4 separate regions of the Homo sapiens genome follow, and regions 2, 3 and 4 are each linked to region 1. Evidence: promoter capture Hi-C in 16 types of primary human blood cells and fetal thymus (Javierre and others, 2016). All regions are on one chromosome and are shown on one strand. The core of a region is centred on a gene start or on the middle of the fragment in contact, and the rest is flanking DNA. Distances in the headings are between cores, read along the strand shown.

What was found. The method cuts DNA at HindIII sites, captures the fragments that hold promoters and counts their contacts. A CHiCAGO score of 5 or more calls a contact.
Region 2: a contact is called between a fragment that was not itself captured here and the fragment with the promoter of ASNSD1 in region 1, in 1 of 17 cell types (neutrophils). The highest score is 5.2, in neutrophils.
Region 3: a fragment that was not itself captured here is called in contact with the fragment with the promoter of ASNSD1 in region 1 in 1 of 17 cell types (non-activated CD4 T cells); the score reaches 5.2 in non-activated CD4 T cells.
Region 4: a fragment that was not itself captured here is called in contact with the fragment with the promoter of ASNSD1 in region 1 in 1 of 17 cell types (neutrophils); the score reaches 5.4 in neutrophils.

The regions. Positions count from the first base shown.
Region 1 is chr2:189,660,060-189,663,097 of GRCh38, reverse strand. ASNSD1 (asparagine synthetase domain containing 1) reads right to left here and starts at 1,639. Exons shown (of 6, transcript NM_019048.4): 1 at 1,488-1,639. It overlaps ASDURF (ASNSD1 upstream open reading frame), which reads right to left and starts at 1,639. Exons shown (of 4, transcript NM_001353493.2): 1 at 1,488-1,639. The coding sequence starts at 1,577. RefSeq lists an enhancer at 1,392-1,581. The HindIII fragment of the contact is 6,437 bases long and covers 1-3,038 here.
Region 2 is chr2:190,967,857-190,970,894 of GRCh38, reverse strand. It overlaps STAT1 (signal transducer and activator of transcription 1), which reads left to right. Exons shown (of 25, transcript NM_007315.4): 25 at 178-1,746. The coding sequence ends at 192. Among named protein-coding and RNA genes, the nearest start is that of STAT1, 45 kb to the left of the region's middle. The HindIII fragment of the contact is 2,672 bases long and covers 1-2,586 here.
Region 3 is chr2:190,877,280-190,880,317 of GRCh38, reverse strand. It overlaps LOC124906110 (a long non-coding RNA gene), which reads left to right. Exons shown (of 2, transcript XR_007087791.1): 2 at 1-3,038. Among named protein-coding and RNA genes, the nearest start is that of GLS, 2.0 kb to the left of the region's middle. RefSeq lists an enhancer at 1-109. The HindIII fragment of the contact is 2,674 bases long and covers 8-2,681 here.
Region 4 is chr2:190,676,279-190,679,316 of GRCh38, reverse strand. The region is part of intron 6 of NAB1 (NGFI-A binding protein 1); the gene reads right to left. Among named protein-coding and RNA genes, the nearest start is that of NAB1, 29 kb to the right of the region's middle. RefSeq lists an enhancer at 530-579. The HindIII fragment of the contact is 2,016 bases long and covers 575-2,590 here.

The DNA of each region.
Region 1 (3,038 bases), core at 390-2,889:
CTGCAGTCAAACATTCAAATCAAGCAATGCCCTATTTGGGGACAGTAAGACCTATCATGTTCCATCTTGGTATTTTTCCCTCTTTTTATCTCAATGACTAGCATAGAGCTGGCACTGTTGAACTGGGCTTTTTTTTTTTTTTTTTTTTTGAAACAGGGTCTTGCTCTGTTACCCAGGCTGGAGTGCAGTGGTGCGATCACGGCTCACTGCAGCTTTGATCTTCCCGGGCTCAGGCGATTCTCACACCTTAGCCTCCGAGTAGCTGGGACTACAGGCCTGGGCCACCATGCTGGCCTGGGCTTCATTTATTTGTAGGGGAGGGCTCAACTAAGTGAAAACTAAGTTTCTTTTTAACTCTATTTATTTTGTGAACATGACTGATTACATAGTATCACAAGAGCCTCTAAAAGCAGCTTTTATCATATTTGTGCTACCTCACACACACCTCAGGGATCTGTAACCACCAGTATGCGTAAGTGGCTTGCTATGGTGGTAATCAGAATGGGCTGTGTGTCTTTTGAAAATTCACCCCCAATCCCCATGAATGTGCACCTTTCTGTCTCCCCCGTTGGCAGAGCTGTAGTAATGAGGTTGAATTCCAAGGCCAAATTTGTAAACATTCTTTGAGACTTAACATTTATACAGGGCTTTCCCATTTTAGGAATGACAGGTGTACATTTCACTTTACTTCAAAGAAGGTAACTGATACAGAAAGATTAAAGAGACTTGCCCAAGATGTCATTGTAAGTTTGGGACAGAACCAAAGTAGAATCTAGGACATGTAATACCTGAAGGGCTATAACCCTCGCCACCCCCATTTATCTTTAAAGGTTGTTTGTTTATGGCAGTTAAGGCTTATATTATATTGGCTTCCTCTCTCCCCCAGTTTGGTATGAGTGACAACCCAATGCGTGTTTTAGGACCATTGCTCTGGTTAACGGAGAAGCAGCAGCTAACAGGTGGATGAGGAGAGACCGCTTAGGAAGGCCTTGCCGGGGGCAGGGGTCCCGATAGCAGATGACGGTGGCTTATTTGGGGTGGTAAGAGTGTTCACGGTGATAAAGGGACATATTTGAAATGAGCTTCAAAGGTAGAACTGATAGGCTTCCATGATGGGGGTCAAGGATGGACCCCGGGTTGCTGGCATGGTTAACTGGATGGAGAATATCTTTGATGGAACAGATTTGGGGTGGGCGGTATTTCCAAAAGTTTAAAAAGACTAGGGAGGAAAACACCCAACCAAAACTCCGCCCCACTGTCACCTGGGTCCAGTCTCGGGACAAATTTCAAGATCTCCCTTTTCGCAACTGTTTTCAGAAAATAAAAGGACTAACTGTGGCTGTCAAGTGCTATGAATAAAAAGAGCAAAGTAGCAGGGCAAAGCCGAGGCCCAGGCAGGCCCCACGCTGCCCGCTGCGGACCACCTTCAGGGTCCAGTGGCGCCCGGTCCCGAGTCCAGGAGCCTTTTCGTCGCGTCTCACACTCACCTTGCTGCTTAGATCCTCCTTGTGTGGGGTCGAATTGTCGGTGGGGATCAGCACAGAGCTGTCCTCTGGTCGCGTCCCTCGGCTGGGCATTTCCACCGAGCGCAAGACACGCGGGATGGCTCAGCCCTGAAGGAGCCTACGGCATTAGCCACAGCGCATGCGCGCTTCCAGCCGCGCTCACCCTTTCTTTTCCCGCGAGTCTTACCAATAGCGTCTGCGCGCTCACTTGAACGCATGCGCAGGCCGGGTCTGGCCTGGGGAGGAGTTTCGCGCCTGCGCATGGCTGCTTAGGGAGCGAGTAAACAGTCTGGTTGCAAAATCTGAGGTTCCTGTACTGGCCTCTTGTGGTTGAGATGCAGAAACGCTCAGGTGGTTTCTTCATGACCTCTTATCTAGTATACTACGAGTTCTGTGCGCCCTCCAGTGGTAAATATGAAGAATAGTCGTGCAATAGAAACAGCGCTTAATATGATATTTATTATCTAGGGAAAGATGAAGCTAAGGAACAGATTTAAGAGATACCGTGTTGGCAAAAGAACTGTACAGACTTGGTAAAGTTTTGGTTAACTCGTGGTTAGGGTTGCCGGATAAAATACAGTATGAACTTCAGATGAATTAATAGTTTTTTAGTGCATCTATGTCCCGTGCAATATTTGCAATATCTCATTTCTGTGGAAAAAATGACTAAAACTTGGAAATAGGCAAAAGAGATTTATTTACTGGATGCTCTTTCAGTGCTGCTCTGGACTTGACTTTATTATATTGACTGGGCTGTTTTACAATTCTGTAGGGGCAAAGGTTAACTTTGGTAGAGATTTTGGTTTGGTAGAGATGCAAATAATTTTTTGTTGTACCAGATACCAACACAGGTTATGATTTATTGTTCTGCAACACATTAGTCAGTTTTGTATCTAACCCTGCATTCTGTCCTAACATTTCTTTATTAACATATGCCTAGCTTCTCTAATATTCTGTATTGGTTTTAAAGTCATCGGTTCCCTCACTAACCAATGAGTTGAATAAAAGTTTGACATGTATATATTTTATGTTCACATTAGAGACATGATTTTAGGTTTTTGATAATTATACTATATTATTGGAAATCTTAAGTTTCCACAGAGATGCCCAACTGGATTTATGTGATGAATCAAACTATCTGGCGAAAGAAATGTATACATCATGGGTTGTTTAAGGCCAGGCATGTTTTTTATTTGCTCTTACAGAAAACCCAAGTGGTTATATATTTTTCCTTTATAATTGATTTTTAAAGATTGTGTTTTCATTTCTGATTTGTACATTCCTGATAAGTTATTCAGGTATAACTTATACATTACTGATACATTGATAGCAGCAATGATTGGGAGTTTGGTTTTGTGGTCTAACCATTTGGTGGTATCTGTTGGATGATGGACGTCTAGTCTCATTGGTAGAGAGGTAGATAGGTGCAGTGGCTCAAACCTGTAATCGCAACCACTCGGGGCTGAGGTGGGAGGATTACTTGAGGCCAGGGGTTCAAATAAATAAATAAGAGAGGTGACAGAGAAGCGAGTT
Region 2 (3,038 bases), core at 1-2,500, 1.3 Mb before region 1:
TTAGCCCAGGATAATACATAGTACATGCTGAAGGCCCTCTTATTCCACGGTATTTATTTGCCATTGCAAGTATCTTCCTACTACTTCATTCTAGAATAGACAAGCAATGTTTAATGTATGAGTCTGCATTTCACAAGATCAGTGTAATAAACTTAACCACATTTTGTCTTTTTACAGATGAACACAGTATAGAGCATGAATTTTTTTCATCTTCTCTGGCGACAGTTTTCCTTCTCATCTGTGATTCCCTCCTGCTACTCTGTTCCTTCACATCCTGTGTTTCTAGGGAAATGAAAGAAAGGCCAGCAAATTCGCTGCAACCTGTTGATAGCAAGTGAATTTTTCTCTAACTCAGAAACATCAGTTACTCTGAAGGGCATCATGCATCTTACTGAAGGTAAAATTGAAAGGCATTCTCTGAAGAGTGGGTTTCACAAGTGAAAAACATCCAGATACACCCAAAGTATCAGGACGAGAATGAGGGTCCTTTGGGAAAGGAGAAGTTAAGCAACATCTAGCAAATGTTATGCATAAAGTCAGTGCCCAACTGTTATAGGTTGTTGGATAAATCAGTGGTTATTTAGGGAACTGCTTGACGTAGGAACGGTAAATTTCTGTGGGAGAATTCTTACATGTTTTCTTTGCTTTAAGTGTAACTGGCAGTTTTCCATTGGTTTACCTGTGAAATAGTTCAAAGCCAAGTTTATATACAATTATATCAGTCCTCTTTCAAAGGTAGCCATCATGGATCTGGTAGGGGGAAAATGTGTATTTTATTACATCTTTCACATTGGCTATTTAAAGACAAAGACAAATTCTGTTTCTTGAGAAGAGAATATTAGCTTTACTGTTTGTTATGGCTTAATGACACTAGCTAATATCAATAGAAGGATGTACATTTCCAAATTCACAAGTTGTGTTTGATATCCAAAGCTGAATACATTCTGCTTTCATCTTGGTCACATACAATTATTTTTACAGTTCTCCCAAGGGAGTTAGGCTATTCACAACCACTCATTCAAAAGTTGAAATTAACCATAGATGTAGATAAACTCAGAAATTTAATTCATGTTTCTTAAATGGGCTACTTTGTCCTTTTTGTTATTAGGGTGGTATTTAGTCTATTAGCCACAAAATTGGGAAAGGAGTAGAAAAAGCAGTAACTGACAACTTGAATAATACACCAGAGATAATATGAGAATCAGATCATTTCAAAACTCATTTCCTATGTAACTGCATTGAGAACTGCATATGTTTCGCTGATATATGTGTTTTTCACATTTGCGAATGGTTCCATTCTCTCTCCTGTACTTTTTCCAGACACTTTTTTGAGTGGATGATGTTTCGTGAAGTATACTGTATTTTTACCTTTTTCCTTCCTTATCACTGACACAAAAAGTAGATTAAGAGATGGGTTTGACAAGGTTCTTCCCTTTTACATACTGCTGTCTATGTGGCTGTATCTTGTTTTTCCACTACTGCTACCACAACTATATTATCATGCAAATGCTGTATTCTTCTTTGGTGGAGATAAAGATTTCTTGAGTTTTGTTTTAAAATTAAAGCTAAAGTATCTGTATTGCATTAAATATAATATGCACACAGTGCTTTCCGTGGCACTGCATACAATCTGAGGCCTCCTCTCTCAGTTTTTATATAGATGGCGAGAACCTAAGTTTCAGTTGATTTTACAATTGAAATGACTAAAAAACAAAGAAGACAACATTAAAACAATATTGTTTCTAATTGCTGAGGTTTAGCTGTCAGTTCTTTTTGCCCTTTGGGAATTCGGCATGGTTTCATTTTACTGCACTAGCCAAGAGACTTTACTTTTAAGAAGTATTAAAATTCTAAAATTCTATTAATCTCTCATTAATAGTATTTAATATAAAGATTCTTAAAATTACTGACGTTATGAATTGGTTTGATGCTTTTCTCATGTACCTCAATCCTTATTTTAAAATAAGATCAATAACACTATTTTCCTAAATGTTGTCCTTACCTGCCCTACACATATTCAGAATTGCTATGGCAGATTAAGACATGTCAATGGAAGAGGTCAGAGGAGTAATATTATTGGCAACAGCTGTAATAGGTGCCATAAAAAGCAAACAAACAAAAGTATTTTGGTTCTTTGCGACCACAGCTGTCCCCAAATATACAGATGATTCAGCACTTATTTTAAAATGAATCTGGGTATTGCTAATACCCCCAAATTAGCAGTTTTTAATTTTAAAATACATGAGAAATGGGACTTTGTCTTGTCTCCAAAGCAGTCATCTAAAATCTACACCCCCACGATTAGATGAGTTATTACTGAGAAGTTATTGCACCCACAAAAAAGCTGCCATTTTTTTCCAAAGATGTCAAAAGCTAGAAGGCCAGGTCTTCTCAAAGTAAAATACACTGTGTATTGGGGAAAAAAGGGTAAGAGGCATAATTACCAAGTTAGGCATAGTCTGTCAAGTTGTATTTAGCTATTATCATGGAATAGTGTTATTCCCTGATAATGAATGTTGGCATCATAACCAGAATGATTATTCTCATCTCCATATCTTCGTATTTACATCTAGGAAATATAAAGCTTATTTATAGTGAACACTGAGAGTGGTCTCTCTCCAAGGAGTAAAGTAAATATGCCCTGGCTAACTAGTGTAAGTTTGTATTCTACATAATTAACCATTATAAGAAGTCACTGAGTAGATCCTAACTTAAGGGATATTTGTTTGTGTTTGAGTATTTCTCGTGTGGTGTTTCTAAGTTTGAAAAGTGTTTTATAAGCATAGAGCTTATGTGTGCTACTGGGGACAAATGTCTCATTTTAAAGGAAAGAGGGTTTTCTGAGATGGCATGAAATGAGTGAAATCTATTTATTGCCTGAAAGCTAAAGTGGAATATGAAGGCAAGTCTTTCTGAACAGAGCAGTCCTGTCACTGACTAACCCAGGGAAAGGACAGGAAAAAGCTAGAAAGTGTTTTGAAAACTCTTCTGCTTACCTTTTGAATTGGGACATTAACAAAGTAAGGACCATTTATGTG
Region 3 (3,038 bases), core at 95-2,594, 1.2 Mb before region 1:
ACAAGCTTCATCCCTCTCCCAAATGTAACATTTGCTTGAAACTTTCCATGATTGGCTACTACCCAGACGTGAAGTGTTTTGGAAAAAATGAGCAAAATCCTTTCAGCTATGCGACTTAAGCCATGGGAGGGTGGAGGTGGAGGGAGGGCGACGAGTGGCGAGGCGGGGTGGGGGGGTTGCGGAATCCAGAATACGACAGCTTTCTTTTTTAAAAATTATTTTTTTTAAATGTACACCGATACTTCAAAAATAGTTTTGAATAGCAATGATTCCGTTAACGCTATTTGCTTGAAAGCAAAACTGTAGATACTTTTCTATTTTAAAAACTGCTTCACTGTTTTAAAATAGAAGCGTTGGAATACGGGTTCTCTAAGTTATTTCAGCATCACTTTATCCATTTATCCTTTTGGACCTGTGGAAAAACAGCCAAGAACCTGATAAACTGAGTTATTCCCTGAGGCTACATACACATTACATTCCAGGACAAAAAAATGTTTTTAGACTATTTCCTGAAACAATTAGGTTTAAATGGAGTAGATCCACAGAGTTTAATAAGATGTTTTGGGGGTTGGTGTGTTGTTACTGTGTTGTTGTGTGTGTTCGTTTTGAGAAAGGGTCTCACTCTGTCGCCCAGGCTGAAGTGCAGTGGCGCGATCACGGCTTACTGCAGCCTTGAACTCAGGGGCCCCGGTGATCCTCCCACCTCAGCCAGCACCTGCTTTTTTTTTTTTTTTTTTTTGTATTTTTGGTAGAGACGGGGTTTCGCCAGGTTGCCCAGGCTGGTTTCGAGGGATCTGCACCCCCTGGGCCTCCCAAATTGCTGGGATTACAGGCGTGAGCCACCACGCCCGGCCTAATGAGGTGATTTTTATGAAACTAGAAGGGTGTATGTCAGGTGCATCATTAATTGATAACCGGATTTAGTAATCTAGTGAACTGTAAAATATTTCAATAGATTAATAATTAGGAAATCTGGCTGTACCTACAGGTTATGTGACCTTTGGCATGTTACAGCCTTGCCGTGTTTTAAGTTTTTTTTTTCTATCTGCTCTTTAACCAGAAGAACATGGAAAAAACTATCATGTGTAAAACATAGTCACCTTTTTTATTTAAAAAAAAAAAAGCAGGACAATGGGAAAGTACTTAGATAGCTTTTATTACTAATGTTACTTGTCCAAAAATGTTGATGAATCAAAGTAATGATATATTCAGGAATAGAGACATCAAGTTTCAGAGGAAAGGTAACAAATATTACCCCTGCCTAACCCTGACTTGTTAATGACTTGCAGACTTTAATATTGTCCAATATATTAGCTGCAATTAGTTATCAATTTTAACTGCCTCTTTTTTCTCAACAACACAAAGCAACTGACAATCCAGTTACTGTTTTCCTCTCAGTTTCTCCCTTAATTTCTCTGAGTTTCTTATGAAAATTGTTTTAGATATTTAAAGGTTTAAAGGCTTTATAGTTCACTTAACAAATAAGAAAGCTAACCTAGTAACAGATTATTTTCTAGAGTTTCTAGTTTCTAGAGTTTTATTTTCTGGTAGTTTCCAGACTTTCTGCTTTTGGTGAGAATGGATAGATATTACTCCCAAAATTTGGAAGAATTGAGTCCACTGAAATTTAACCCCTTGTTTGAGAAGGCTAATGAAAAGGTTATAGACAGCAAAGAAACTATTATAAATAGAATAAAAATGTGACTCAATACTTTCATTTGATTCTTTTCTTCATCTTATATAATTTTTTAATCTTTAAAGATATTTTTATCTACAACTTTGTAACCATTACACAACTTTGAAGTTTCAGTTATGTTAAATTGAATTATATCATTACATAAACTCATGTAATCATCATGTAAAAAGTATAAAAACATTTGTATACATACAATAAGTAGTCCACCAAAATATCTACAAATAGAAAAATGCTCTCCACATTAACTATGGTTGGGTTGTCAGATCTACTCTTCGACTTCCTTTTTGCTCCTAAGTGCAGCTACACTACAAAGAGTTGCTGTCCCATAGCCATCATCAGGTAATCAGCCATCAAAAGGAATAATTGGAATTTGTGCACTTTGTGTCTGTTCTAACTTGAAGAAAGGTTCCTGTGCTTCTATGTTCCTGAGCTTCTTTGTTCTGTCGAAGATTACAAAAGGCTAATGTTTCAAGATCATAATAAAATCCATATATAGGCCGGGCGCGGTGGACTCACACCTGTAATCCCAGCACTTTGGGAGGCTGAGGCGAGCAGATCACAAGGTCAGGAGATTGAGACCATCCTGGCTAACACGGTTAAACCCCATCTCTACTAAAAATACAACGATTAGCTGGGCGTGGTGGCACACACCTGTAATCCCAGCTACTTGGGAGGCTGAGGCAGGAGAATCACTCAAACCTGGGAGGCCGAGGTTACAGTGAGCCAAGATCGCACCACTGCACTCCAGCCTGGCAACAGAGCGATACTACATCTCAAAAAATAAAATAAAATAAGATAAAATAATATATATATATAGAAATTCCAGATTGCGCCTTCACAAAAACTAGTAGATTATTTGTTGACCTAGAACTAAAAAGAAAGTAATTTTCCTTTGACTAACAGCTTAAAAGAATTGCCTAAGCCTTTTTTTGAAATTCTTCTGTTTGGAGAATAGAGTAAGGTTCAGGAAGCCTCTAAACAAGCTTCTGCTACTACTTCCCTTTCTTCTGTTGGTTTCCTGCTTTAACTGGCCAAATTCCTAGCCTCACTGATAAGCCCTGCCAAACATGGCTTATTTTTCCAATACTGAATATAGATGTGTACCAAAGTAAGTATGGTAAATCCCTCATCTATAAAAAGGGGATAATATGGCCAGGCAAGGTGGCTCACGCCTGTAATCCCAGCACTTTGGGAGGCCGAAGCAGGTGGATCACCTGAGGTCAGGAGTTCAAGACCAGCCTGGCCAACATGGTGAAACCCCATCTCTACTAGAAATTCAAAAAATTAGCCAGGCATGGTGGTGCATGCCTGTAATCCCAGCTACTCGGGAGGCTGAGGCAGG
Region 4 (3,038 bases), core at 333-2,832, 1.0 Mb before region 1:
AAAAACTACAAAATCGAGTAGCTATCACTGCATGTCACATAAAGTAGATTTAAGGTCCCCAAAATATATGACTTAGAAATAAAAGTAAGAACATTCCCAAGAAACTGGTCTCTTTCACATTATGTGTGGTGCACAATTTCGTTATGTCTCGTAAGCTTGTTTCCCAGGCACCAGCTAGCTGCACCATACTATGAGCAATCTATCTCCATGTCATATTTTTGGCTGATGCCATTAATCACAGTGTTTCCTTGCTGACGAGACTCTGGGTCTGATCACTGAGAAAATAAAAGCTATGGGACGGAGGCTGGTGCATGACCTAATTACTCTCATCCCATTGGTCTCCATCCCCATGCCTCCTCATCCTTTCTGCCGAACACTAGCAAGCTGCTTTAAAGCCACTGCTTAGCTGTCTCTAGATGACTTGTTACAGCAGATGTTCTCAACCCCACATGTGCATTTTCCTTTTTTCTAATCACACTTTCTGTATGAATAGCATATTGTAATGCTTCTGTTTTTTCTGATCCAGAGGGGAAGAGTCTACGTCAAATTAGACCAGCTTTCTTTTCAACAAGCTTAGTAGCAGCGTAGGTGGATATTCTGAACCTCTTTCCTCCCCCTTCCTTGCTCTCCCACCCCCACCTTGCTGGAACTGCTAGCAGATGTTTCCTTTAGGTCTTTCTTCTTCAAGCCCCAGTTCTCTGACTTCCTGGGCTCTATTAACAAACCTCATTTCTTTCATCCACTTATCTCTGAATGCTTTGCACCTCTGACTCCCACAGGGTCAAGAATGCTGTCATTTCCCATCTCTGCCCAGTCTCCAGCAATTTCAGCGAATGAAGAAAACTCAAATGAGAAATAGCACTCAGTCCAGTTAGTCAGCTGCCATCACCAGGTCTGAGACTGTAGCTTTATATATCCTTCCTCCCTTCTAAGATGTTACTTATAACATTGGAGTTAATAACAAATTTGTTCATGGAACTGAATGTGTTCTTAATGAAAAAGAAAGGTTACCAATTGAATTCACTTTTAACTAACATTTAAAAAAATTTAGGAGAAGACAAGAGAGCCAGGGACTTTGGCTCTTGATTTTTCATCCCCTTGAATGAGCTGTCAAGCCACCTTAAATATGTTCTTTCATAGGTAGGACATAAGGAAATCAAACTAATTTTTCTGATTTACTCTGTGTATCTTCCCAACACAAGGTTTTTACTCATAAACAATCAGCATATCAAATGAAAATTTCTTATATTTAAATATTTTGTAATTTACATTGTTAAATTTTCTACTCAAAACTTGTAACTGTTTACTACATAACATTTCTTGGATTAGAAAATAATAACTGCCACCATCCACCCTTTTCAAAGACTACCAGTCCTGCACACATTTCGCCCTTCACACGGTACTAGGAGGAAAGGTATAACCCCAATAGTGTTTTTTTCACAGGTAAGATGCTTTGTGAATAATCATTAGCACCTAGGAAGGTGGTACTGCTTTGACATTCAGGAATCAGACATAGATAGGAAGCCCCGGCTCTGCTACTGGATAGCAGTTTGGCAACACAGGTGAAGATACTGAGCCTGTCTGGGTCTCTCCTTGGCTGTAAAATGGAAATCATAAAGCCTCCACATAGGTTAGACAAGAATGTTTGTGATAATGAATTCCAAATGTCTAGTAGGGACTGACACAAAATAAAAGCAATACAAAGTAGCGATTTTTACAATTGCCCCAGAATGAGAAGATTTAATTAGATCTAATTCAAAAGATAAGTAAGAATAAACAAAATCTATTTTCATTTCAGCTGAAAGTGGACTCACAGAGGGCTGTGTTCCAGTGGACATGTTATTCATTCCGTCTAAGCAGAAGGATTCCAACCTCACTTACTAACTAGCTGAAGAAACGTTTCCCTAGAGATTTCATTCCAAATGGTAGGTTCCTTAAGGCACACCTAAGCTAGCAGGCGATCTTTTTCTCCATGTCCATCTCATATATTCTAGGAATTAAAGTTCAAAATCTGTTTTTTAATGTTTAACATACCCTGTAAGGAGGAACACTATTTAAGGACAACAGATTATCTTGATTACTTCTATGCAATGTGTATACTGCTATTTTTTTTTTAAATCAAATAAGTAACTATCCTTTAAGGGGGAACAACCTACTACATAAATAAGAGCTTTCCAGGTAGAAAAATCAGACAAGTCAATGAATTATAACTTCATTCCACCCAAGCCTTCATGTATAGATCAGGAAAACACAGTATTTAGGAACGAAAGATCTTACTGAGCTTGAACACAGCACTACTTGTATTAGTGTACCCTAATGCATTAATAATGACAAGCAAAAAAATGTTTCTCTTTCCTTTACATGTCAAATTATTTTGATGTTATTTTATTTTATCTGCTCAACATTACATTTCTTTTTGTTCCCTGTAAAAATTATGTTTTTAAGATGGAAAAAGCCAGCAATGTGGCACATATGCTTATTGTTATAAAGGATTTTAGAACACTTAAAGATTTGAAAAAAGAGAAAAACTTGTCTCATTAGTTTGGGCCTTGTAATTAGAAATCTGTTACACTATAAAATGGGCTAAGCTTAAGTTTATTTGTACGTTACTTAAAAACTTTTTTTCCTTTGTTTGAGACAAGGTTGTGCTCTGTTGCCCGGGCTGGAGTGCAGTGGGGCAGTGATTCTCCCACCTCAGCCTCCTGATTAGCTGGGACTACAGGCACATGCCATCATGCCTGGCTAATTTTTGTAAGGATGGGGTTTTGCCATGTTGCCCAGGCTGGTCTCAAACTCCTGGACTCAAGCAATCCATCTGCCTCAGCCTCACAAAGTGCTGGGATTACAGTCATAAGCCACCATGCTCAGTCTTGTATATTACTTTCTTTAAATAGAAAATAACAAGCTGAGAATCACAAGAGAAAGACTCAAATGAAATAAGAGAAAAAGTATGTTAAAAGAATTCTAAATTCTTTCTAGTTTTATTTATGAGGTCCTTTGTGTCAATCACATTCCCTAGACAAACTTATTGTTCTCTG